2 separate regions of the Homo sapiens genome follow, and region 2 is linked to region 1. The links are contacts of gene promoters, found by promoter capture Hi-C in human tissues and cell types (Jung and others, 2019). All regions are on one chromosome and are shown on one strand. Each heading gives the region's core, a stretch centred on a gene start or on the middle of the fragment in contact. The rest is flanking DNA. Distances are from core to core; before and after follow the strand shown. Region 1 overlaps WBP1L (WW domain binding protein 1 like). Region 2 holds the start of NT5C2 (5'-nucleotidase, cytosolic II).

Region 1 (5,750 bases), core at 1,962-4,461:
TAATAAAACCATGGGATATGTTGCAACTTCCGATTTTTGCTGTGGGATTTTCCTACCAGGGTCAAGTAGCTTTTTCTGAATTTGTTATTCAGGTTCCTAATAGCAACACAGGAAATGGATTTTAATTTTTTTGCTGGCTGCTCTGTTTGGGGGCTGTTTAATGAGGATGTAGTTGCAGTGCAGCTTTGGCAGTAACAGTACTGGTGTGGATGGGAGCGTAGCTAACATGTCACTTCTTTTTAAAATTTATGTGTATGATCTATTATATGTTTTAATGGAATGAGGCATAGAGAGTATAAATAATGTGCCTTGATTCTATGTAGGTACTCTTGTGGGTAACTGTGTTGGGACACGTTTGGGATTCTAGAAAACGAATATGAGTCTATTTCATGTTTAGAGAGCAGGAACTGTTTATTGTATGTTCTTTTTAGATCCAGGGCAGTGGTTCTCAAGCTTGAATATACATAAACATAACCAGGGGAGCATGTTTTAAAAGGCGGATTTTCAGTCCCTGCCCCTAGAGGGTCTCAGTCTATCTACATTCTTGACAAATATTTCAGATGATCTGGGGCCCATGGACCACACTTTTGGGAAACACATCCCTATTTTGTTGCATTTGTTGTCTAAGCATGTTCATTGTTATGTGGGGGCAAATTCACTTATTTATAAGATGCCCTTATTGTCCTGATTCACTGTGTTGCCCTTCCTCAGATTCTTGACTAGTGTTAGTCTTTGGGAGGGACCAGACCAGATTGTTCCAGGATGCCCTGTGGGTTGAAGTCAGTGGACCTCTATTGTCCCCACTACTACCCCTGGGACTCCCCTTTGGGGACCATGACACTGTGGGCTCATCTTGAAGCAGCAGCCATCTCTTTTGATCCTAGGCTTTTCTTACATTGGTCACAAGCTCCAGTCTTTGGCTTTACTCTTTAGGGTACTCTATAGCTAAAGCATGGGGGACTGGGTCCTCTTAAGCCCAGGGAGCTGGAGTCCAGAGCCCTTAAGGAGTAAACCACACTATCAGATCTGAGGGATGAGGCTGAACCTTATCAGAAGATTTACTGGCTTGGTTAGGGGAACCTACCCATGTAGCCCAGGCTATTTGTTCTTTTGGAAAACTACTGAATTCAGCCAAACAGCATAAAAATCCATTCCTAGTGTCCCATTGCATGCAAGACAAAGTCTTGGTTAACTTCTTAGCAGTGGCTTGCCCTTTATGGGGAAGGATGGAATTGAGTAAGCTCTTTTAGCCAAAGCTTATGGAATAATTGTCAGGTGTGGTATATACTAGAAAGGATACGAAAGTAGTACATGACAACCCCACCATCAAAGAAAGGGAGATTAGACTGGGCACAGTGGCTCCCGACTGAAATCCCAGCACTGTTGGAGGCTGAGGCAGGAGAATCACTTGAGCCCAGAGTTTGAGACCAGCCTGAGCAACGTAGTGAGATCCTGTCTCTACAACCAATAAAAAAAATTAGCTGGGTGTGGTGGCGTATGCCTGTGGTCCTAGCTAATTGGGAGGCTGAGGTGGGAGGATTGCTTGAGCCTGGGAAGTTGAGGCTGCAGTGAGCTATGATCGTGCCACTACACTCTAGCCTTGGTGACAGAGTGAGACCCTGTTTCCAGAGGGGGAAAAAAAAGAGAGGGGAGACTAGACTAACACATGGGAAGCAATAGGCCAGGACTCCTGCTGCATCATCCCCCTTCTTGAGCTTACTTTCTTCATCCTCAGCCCTTCTGTACTCTCCTTCTACCCAATTTGAAAATGTGTGCCCTTGAACAGTTCTCTTTATTTCCCTCAGGTCTTTGAACAGTCTAAAAAACCAATAGTGGTCAGGCACGGTGGCTCACGCCTGTAATCCCAGCACTTTGGGAGGCCGAGGTGGGCGGATCACCTGAGGTCAGGCGTGCGAGACCAGCCTGGCCAATATGGTGAAACCCTGTCTCTATTAATAATACAAAAAATTAGCTGGGCGTGGTGGTGCACGCCTGATGTCCCAGCTACTCGGGAGGCTGAGGCAGGAGAATCACTGGAACCTGGGAGGTGGTGGTTGCAGTGAGCCGAGATCGTGCCACTGTACTCTAGCCTGAGTGACAGAGACCCTGCCTCAGGAAAAAAAAAACAAAACCAATACTATCAGGGAGAACGTGATCTTAACTTTCTTTCTTTCTTTTTTTTTTTTTGAGACAGTCTCACTCTGTCACCCAGGCTGGAGTGCAGTGGTGCGATCTCGGCTCACTGCAACCTCTGCCTCCTGGGTTCATGCCATTCTCCTGCCTCAGCCTCCCGAGTAGCTACCACGCCCGGCTAATTTTTTGCATTTTTTAGTAGAGACGGGGTTTCACAGTGTTAGCCAGGATGGTCTTGATCTCCTGATCTCATGATCCGCCTGTTTCGGCCTCCCAAAGTGCTGGGATTACAGGCATGAGCCACCACACCTGGCTGATCTTAACTTTCTAATTGTAAAAATATAGGTAAAAATATAGGTGAATACATGAAGCTTTGCCTCCTTACCACCTACAAATATGTTTCTAAGGACCTGGGCTTGAAAGTGCTGCATTTTCAGAACTTGAAGATTCTATCTAGGATAGAACAAAAATAGCTGATTCTAAGTTAAAGTTGTTTGCTGTCTTATTTAGCCATTTCAAATGTCTGCTTTATGAAAACTGCGTTATCCTTTAGCTACAGAGCATTACCAAAATCATTTAGAACTTTTTCCTAGTAGATATGCAGTGCTAGACTTTGGTCTCCTTTCTAGAAAGCCATTCCTGGTTCAAGAATGGAAGGAAAGTTTGTTTTGTTGCTTACTCTGCAAGAGCAGCCACAACCTGGCTGGGGGGGATAAATAAAGGCTCAAGGTAAAGAATAAGTATGAGAGTTGCAAAAATATTTATATATTTATTCAAGTCTCCACCATAACCTAAGGGAGGGACTAGCCAAAGCCAACAATGAATTCATAAACTGTGGTACTTTGGAGATTATTTTATTTTATTTTATTATTTATTTTTTACTGAGACGGAGTCTTGCTCTGTTGCTCAGGCTGGAGTGCAGTGGCACAATCTCGGTTTGCTGCAACCTCCACCGCCTGGGTTCAAGTGATTCTTGTGCCTCAGCCTCCTGAGTAGCTGGGACTACAGGTGCGCACAACCACGCATGGCTAATTTTTTAAATATTTTTAATAGCGATGGGTTTTCGCCATGTTGGCCAGGCTGGTCTCGAATTCGTAACCTCAGGTGATCCACCTGCCTCAGCCTCCCAAAGTGCTGGGATTACAGGCATGAGCCACTGCACCCAGCCTGGAGATTATTTTAATTGTTATACAAAGCCTATGAGATCTGACCTCAGCTGAATTCTTAGCTCCCCTTTCACACTGCTTTCCCTGAGATCACTGTACTCAGCTACACTAGTCTTCTTTCTCTTCCTTGAGCACACCAAGCTTGTTTCTGCCCTGGTGTTTTTGCGTGGATTTGATATTTCTTCTTCCTGGAACACTGTTCTCACCGGTCTGGTTAAGCTGGCTCTTTTTCAGCAGTCAGGGCTCTACTCAGATGTCACCTACTCAGAGTGGCCTTTCCTGACCACCCTATCTAAAACTCTTTGTCTCATTATCGTGTTTTATTATCCTCATGGAGCTTATTACTGCTAGTGAAATTATAATTTTGCTTGTTAATTGTCCGTCTTCCCAACTGGAACATATTTAAAAATCTTTTTGCCTTTGTCACTCTGCAGTTTCATACAGTGTACCTAGGTGTGGGCTTCTTATTATCTGGAAATTTTGTATCTTTTTTTTTTTTTTTTTGACAGTCTCACTCTGTCACCCAGGCTGGAGTGCAGTGGCATGATCTCGGCTCACTGCAACCCCCGCCTCTCAGGTTCAAGCGATTTTCCTGCCTCAGCCTCCCGAGTAGCTGGGACTACAGGCGCCCGCCACCACGCCCAGCTAATTGTATTTTTAGTAGAGATGGGGTTTCACAGTGTTAGCCAGGATGGTCTCGATCTCCTGACCTCATGATCTGCCCAACTTGGCCTCCCAAAGTGCTGGGATTATAGGCATGAGCCACCACGCCCGGCCGAAATTTTGTATCTTTAATCAGTCTTATATAGAAAATTTTTAGTTATCCCTTTAAATATTTCCTCTCCTCCATTCTTTTCTTCTCAAGCTTCTTTCTCATTTTTCATTTCCATGTTTTCTCTTGTAGAAGCACTTTGATGGTAATTTTCTCAGATCTGTTCTCTAGTTCATCAATTTCCTCTTTAACTTGGTCTCCTCTCTGTGTGACCCATCTGTTGAGTTTTTTCTTTCAATAACTATTTTTCTACAAGTTTTATCTGCCTGTTACTATTTCTTGTTTGGTAGTGTTCTTTTCTTGTGTTTTTAATTCTTTCTTTTTGGCTTTAATCATTTGAGATATGCTTGTATCTTATAGGGACTTTTTTTCAGGGGGTCTTATCCTGCTATTTGTTGAATTTGTCATCTTGTTTGTAATGGATTAGTTTTGCATACATTTTTATATTTTGGATTGTGAGCTTATCTTCAACAGAACTTTATTTTTATTTTTATTTTTGAGACAGTCTCTCACTGTCGCCCAGGCTGGAGTACAATGGTGCAATCTCGGCTCACTGCAACCTCTGCCTCCCGGGTTCAAGCAATTCTCCTGCCTCAGCGTCCGGAGTAGCTGGGATTACAGGCGCCCGCCACCACGCCCAGCTAATTTTTTTGTATTTTTATTAGAGACAGGATTTCACTATGTTGGCCAGGCTGGTCTCGAATTCCTGACCTCGTCATCCGCCCGCCTCAGCCTCCCAAAGTCCTGGAATTACAAGCGTGAGCCACCGCGCCTGGCCAACAGAACTTTATGTGTAGGAATCCTTTGTGCCGTGGCTGAGGGTAGATCTGTTCAGTTTTGTATTTCTGCCAGATGTTGCAGGTTTATTGCCAGCCTGGGACTACTTTTTGTGTTAAATTTTTGGCTTGGGGATCCTCAGACCATGTAGTAGTACAATTCAAATCTGAAATAATCTGTGATCACACATTATTAGAGGAGATACTGTTTTCCTCCCACTTCAGAGTTTTTATTGTCACTATGTGCCAGTGGGCTAATGTTTTTTCTAATCTGTTCTCCCCCTCTGAGGGCGCCAGCTTTGTACTGGTTCTCAGTTCCAATTCCCTGTTTCAGGTGGGCCCAAGATCAACAAACTACCCCACTTTCTAGGTCAACTGGAAAGGCCTGATCTCATTTACTACTGTGGTTTCTAGTTCCCGCTGTCGTTTTTGGTCCCAGGTGATCCTCCTTGCTTTCTTGCAAGTTCAGCTTTGTAATTAAAAGTGATTGTTGTATAGCCAGGGTTTTATAGCAGAATAATTTTTAGTTACCTACCCAGCTATATTGCCAGAAGCGGAAACTCTCCCCTCCCACCCCCCGAATCTCTTGCTTATTGCTATAGCTATAGCATCCCACATAGTGCCTGGCACATGGTTGGGGGAAGGGGGTCAATACATATGTGTTAAATGATTTGGAGAACTGAACATTTCCATTAGGAATTAGTTCTTGGCCAGGCACGGTGGCTCACACCTGTAATCCCAGCACTTTGGGAGGCCGAGGTGGGAGGATCCCTTGAGCCCAGGAGTTCAAGACCAGCCTGGGCAACATGAGGAGACCCTGTCTCTATTTAAACAAACAAAAAAAGATTTAGTTCTTCCTGCAGGGAAAGCCAGAGGTGATGCTCCAAATTAATTCATATCCAG
Region 2 (5,750 bases), core at 2,493-4,992, 400 kb after region 1:
CAGGAAGCGGAGGCTGCAGTGAGCCGAGATCGCACCACTGCACTACAGCCTGGCGACAGAGCGAGACTCCATCTCAAAAAAAAAAACGAAAAAAAAAACAAAGATTAAGACTGTCATAATTTTTTTAACTTTTTTCTTTTACTGTTTACTGAATTTTTTTTTTTTGAGATGCTCTGTCGCCCAAGCTGGAGTGCAGTGGCACGATATAGGCTCACTGCAACCTCTGCCTCCCAGGTTCAAGCGATTCTCGTGTCTCAGCCTCCTGAGTAGCTGGGACTACAGGTGGGCGCCATCACGCCCAGCTAATTTTTTATATTTTTAGTAGAGACGGGGTTTCACCATGTTGGCCAGGCTGGTCTCGAACTCCTGACCTCAGGTGATCCACCTGCCTCGACCTCCCAAAGTGCTGGGATTACAGGCGTGAGCCACCGCACCTGGCCGGTTTGCCGCATTAATTTTGTGGCTTTCTTTTTTTTTTTTTTTTTTTTTGAGACAGAGTTTCACTCTTGTCACCCAGGCTGGAGTGCGTGGCGCAATCTCAGCTCACTGCAACCTCCGCCTCCTGGGTTCAAGCGATTCTCCTGCCTCAGCCTCCCAAGTAGCTGGGATTACAGGCATGCGCTACCACGCCTGATTAATTTTTGTATTTTTAGTAGAGATGGGGTTTCACCATGTTGGCCAGGCTGGTCTCAAACTCCTGACCTCAGGTGGTCATTCACTCCGCTCTAATTGCAAAGAATCCATGTAGCATACTTGTAAACTGCTTACCAGAATTTCTCTTTCCAGTTTTATCTCAGACTACTGCTCTACCAAACCCTTTTAGTGAGAACAATCTATTAATCATACCCTCAATACATCCACTTCAGCATCTTCTCCCTACTCTGAAGTGTTACTGTTTTTCCTGATCCCACCAAGCTACATTAATATTCCTTCACTCTGAGCAAAAAAAACTAACATTTATAGAGAACTTAATGTGTGCCAGTATCACTTCAACTGAATTATTCTATTTAATCCACATAACTCTGTAAAATTTGTTCTATTTTTCCCTTCTCAAGGTGAGAGAAACTGAGTGAGCTTGTCTAAGGTTAACTGAGTTCCCCGAGGTTGCATGATGTTAAGTAGCAAGCCAGACTACAAAATCCGGGCCCTTAAATAAATGCAATGTCTCCTGGCTGAAAGTATGACTGCCTTTACTGCTCACGTCACTCAACATATGCCTTGTGATAGTTAGTATTTTGTGTTAAATGTCTAAAAACCTCAAAACATTACAACACTTATTCAACAAAAATTTACTAAGAGCCTGTGTGCCAGGCATTGTTGACTACCGGGGCACATTAGAGAGCATCTACTAATGAAGATTAGATGAATTCTCTAAATACATGGACATCCCAGAAATATTGGTAAGAGCAAAATCCCAAATAATATGTACACAGCAAGTGTACTAGATAAAAACCAGTCTATGTAAGTACTTTAAAAGAGCACAGTCATAACATGACAAAGTTGTGGGTTTTTGTTTTTGGGGATTTGTTGTTATTTACTATTTCACTGAATTAAGCTTTTGGTAAGAGAATTAAGCAACAGGGTCGGACGCAGTGGCTCAAGCCTGTAATCCCAGTACTTGGGAGGCCGAGGCGGGCAGATCACCTGAGGTCAGGAGTTCGAGACCAGCCTGACCAACTTGGAGAAACCCCGTCTCTACAAAATTAGCCAGGCGTGGTGGCGCATGCCTGTAATCCCAGCTACTCGGGAGGCCGAGGCAGGAGAACTGCTTGAACCCGGGAGGTGGAGGTTGCAATGAGCCAAGATCATGCCATTGCACTCCAGCCTGGCCAACAAGAGCAAAGCTCCGTCTCAAAAAAAAAAAAAAAAGAGAGAGAGAGGAAATACTTAAAAAAAAAAACCTGTGTTTTATGTACTCCTCTTTCCCCATAAAACAGGAGAAATAGCCTAGAGAAAGATTAATGAGCACCTCTGTGCCTAACATTCTATTGTAATCTGGCTTTCTTTAGGAAGATGTGATGTCTTCTGGTTAAGGGTGGCAGGTACTATAAGGGAATACTATCTATATAAATCTTCTTACAATTACAAACTTCTGAAAACTTGTAGCTGATGGTAAATTTTCATACAATGGCATCAAACCTTTGAACTGAAAGGAATCTTGCATAACATCTCCTTCAGAACCCCCCCCACTCCACCCCGCGCCCCTCCACCTTATTTTACAGATTTGTTGGTTACTAAATCCTAAAACCTTAATTCTGGGTCAATGAGAGTAATGCAGCTACCTATACTGTTGAAATGTAGTGGTTTACACTGCAATGGAAATGCACTTCAGAAATAAGTCTGTGTATGCTAGTATCAACCCTGCATGTGGAGTTTTTATTTTAATTACTAACCAGCTATGTTTTCTTGAACTTAACCTTTTTTGTTCTTTTTTTTTTTTCCACTCTCAGCTCACACCTATTTTTTTTCTCTTTTCGAACTTCACCCTTTCAGGCCTGGATGTCTTCATCTGGATAAATTCTAACCGTTGTTGAAAAGCCATGTGGTAAATATTTTTGAAACCTAAAGCCTTCTCTACGCAATAACACTAAGTTTTCATGGTAAATGACACAGTTTCAATATTCTCCCTTTCACATTATGGTCAGTAGTTTGCATTCGTTGCTTGAAGAGGCGAAATGAATAGTCTACAGACACTGGGAACCAAGTACAGCTCAATCCTGAAGAACTCATCGGCCCCTGGACGGGCGCGCACACACCCCCCTGTAATGGTGACTAGTCATTTCGGGGCGCTGTACTTCAGAGCACGACCCCCCTCAAACATCAAGGCCCTAAAGGTGAAAGCCCAGGAAAACGTCGATTCGGACAGCAGCCTCTACCTGCTGCTTTTAGAAGCTGTGGCCTGCCGGAGTCAAACCCCCAAAACGTTTTTCTTAAACTAAGGGTTCAGGCCTCAGATCGGCATCTCGCCCTCTCCGATTTCAGGAGCCCCGAAAAAAGGAGAAGAATAGGCCGCCACTGAACGGCTCAGCCCCCTGACCAGGAGCTGTCCGGATGTTTTTTGTGGCGGCTTGCAATTCGCTGTGACCTTTCCAGGAAGTGTTGCACACGGGCGTGTGGCAAACGAGCTGGCCGTTTCTCGCGGTCCTGCTAAAACGCTGTCAACCTGGCGCTCCACCAGAGGCCCCTTGGCTTCTCGGGAGGCGACCGAGGAGCTCTGGGGGCGGGGAGGCTTTTACAAGAAGCGAAAAGACGGCCTCAGGGGTGGCCGGGAACAGCCTGGAATCAGCTGGAGGACGTCAGCAGGACTGAGGAAAGGGCTACCACCAGCGTGAGGAAAGGGGGGAAGAGGGCGGAACGCGGCGAACGGCCGCGCTGGGAGGCTGAGGCGGGGTCCCAGCGAGCCGGCGGCTGGGAAACAATGGCGCGAGCGTGACGTGGGCCGGAGGCGTCGCGGCGGCGCGGAGGAAGGGGCTGCCGTGGGGCGGGGGCCGCACCGAGGGAGTTGGGAGGCGTGCGGCGTCCGCGAGCGCGCTGGCGGGGACTCGGCCTAAGGAGAGGGGCCTTGGGGCCATGGTCCCTGGGGGCCGGGGGCGGGGGCAGGCGGCGGCCGCTACCCTGGGGTCGCGTGTTCGGCCGCGCACCTCCCCACCTAGCTCCCCGTTCGCCCGCTCCTTCCCCGCCCGCCCACGGGGCCCGCCGCACTCACCGGCTCCAGCGCACCGCAACAATCCCAGCGCGCAACTGCCGCAGCCGCCTCAACGCGCGCCCTCCCCGCCCCCGCCGCCCGGCACCGCCCCGCGCCGCCCCTCTGCTCGCGCCCGGCCAGGGACCGGCGCGCTGTTCCGTCCCCCAGCTCCGCCGCAGAGTTCGGCGAAGCCGACGCTCCCTGACCGCGCTGCGTCTGTCTGTCCCGCGGGTCTGGAGATCTTCAAACGATGGAACACCGGCTTTGCCCTTCTGAGGGTCTCCATCCCTTGGCATTCTGCCTGCGCCCCTCAGCCTGGCCCTGGGCTAACCTCTCCACTGTGTCTCATTCAGAAGAAGCTTTTCCTTGGGAGGAGAGGGCATCCTTTTTCCCAGTCACAGAATGTTTTGGTCTAATGGACCTCAAGGCCCCTCATGCGTCCACACCCCCATGGCACCCTCGAATCCCCTTGATGGCTAAAAACACCAGCTTTGAAGTTTGTCAGAACGAGTTCCAGTCCCAGTACCACCACTTACAAACTGTAACCTCGGGCGAGGTACCTGACCTCCTATACCTGGTGCCCACATTTGTAGCACCAGGATAGGGAACAACAGTCCCCACATCAAAGGGTGTTGACGGGATGAAATCACACAATATAGGTGAGGCCCTCAGCAGGATCCTGGCACACAGTAAGCACTCAATAAATGTTCACCCCACCACCAGCAACTCAGCAGGAAGACTCCGCAAAAGCAGCTAGCTATTTCCAGAGGACTGAATTCCTTGGTCCGAGCAGCTCTCACCAGTGAGAAAATGTGTCTAAACTTCCACTCTCAGGGCCGAAATTCGATGCCTTGGAGCCACAGAGAACAAACGTCTAATCTCTCCTGGACCTTTGACTTTTCAGATACTTTACTTCTATCACCTCTGCCCAAGGTCTTCTCATTCCACATCAGTGTCTCCCGTTCCTTCCATTGTTCCTCCTCTGCCCTGGTTTTGAGGGTCTTTATCCCTCTCACGCAAATGGTAGATTTGACTGTGATTTCTTTAGAATACATCACCCAAGACTGAACCAAATGTTTGTGGTATCATCAGAGCAAAGCAGGACTATAGCTTCCTCCTTTTGGGACCTATCGCTTTGCACTCCTGCGATAAAGTTCTTGGCACCCATACTGTTGACTCATATTGGGCTTGCAGTCAACCAAAACCTCCGCGTCTTTTTAATAAGTGCTCCGCCAGAGCACTTCTACCCCTTCTTGTGCTTCTCAGCCAACTTCGCTTCAGGTCAGCTAAGGATAGACCTTGGGCCCCTCACCTTCTAAATTTCTCAGGATATATGGAAAAGAGGAATAGGGGTTGGAAGCTGGCATAACACAATCTTTAAACCAAGTGCATTTGAAAAAAGGCCAGGGTGGCGGGGCGTGGTAGCTCACACCTGTAATCCCATCACTTTGGGAAGCCAAGGCAGGTGGATCATTTGAGGTCAGGAGTTCAAGACCAGCCTGACCAACATGGCGAAACCCCATCTCTACTAAAAATACAAAAATTAGCTGGGCATGGTGGCACGCACCTGTAGTCCCAGCTACTCGGGAGGCTGAGGCAGGAGAATCGCTTGAACCCGGAAGGCGGAGGTTGCAGTGAGCCAAGATCACGCCACTGAACTCCAGCCTGGGCGACAGAGGGAGACTCCATCTCCAAAAAAAAAAAAAAAGAAGAAACGAAAAAAGGCCAGGGTTTGTGTCTAAACACTATGGTACTGAGAGAAAAACAAATATAGAGACACACACAAATGAATGTGATCACAACTGTGAAAAAAAACTGCACACGCAAAAGACTACAGGGAAATATGTAATTGATTATGTTGTTTTCTCTCAGTGATAAGATGGGGTGGTTTCTTCTTTGTACTTTTGTATTAATTTCTTACGGTGTTTGTATTACTTTTATAATCAAGAACTTTGTTTTAAAAAATAAATCAGAAAAAAGAATTTAAAAAATCAGAGAGATGGAATAACTTGAAAAAAACTGAAAACAAAGTTAAAAGATAACAGAATAAGGGGAAAACTATTCG

What was found. The method cuts DNA at HindIII sites, captures the fragments that hold promoters and counts their contacts. A contact is called where the count stands out against the background at its distance.
Region 2: the fragment with the promoter of NT5C2 here is called in contact with a fragment that was not itself captured in region 1 in 2 of the 25 tissues and cell types used here (dorsolateral prefrontal cortex and hippocampus).

What each region holds. Positions count from the first base shown.
Region 1 is chr10:102,785,962-102,791,711 of GRCh38, forward strand. The region is part of intron 1 of WBP1L (WW domain binding protein 1 like); the gene reads left to right. Among named protein-coding and RNA genes, the nearest start is that of CYP17A1-AS1, 44 kb to the right of the region's middle. The HindIII fragment of the contact is 4,714 bases long and covers 855-5,568 here.
Region 2 is chr10:103,189,530-103,195,279 of GRCh38, forward strand. NT5C2 (5'-nucleotidase, cytosolic II) reads right to left here and starts at 3,743. Exons shown (of 19, transcript NM_001351169.2): 1 at 3,707-3,743. RefSeq lists enhancers at 2,484-3,172, 3,173-3,859 and a silencer at 3,558-3,837. The HindIII fragment of the contact is 10,406 bases long and covers 571-5,750 here.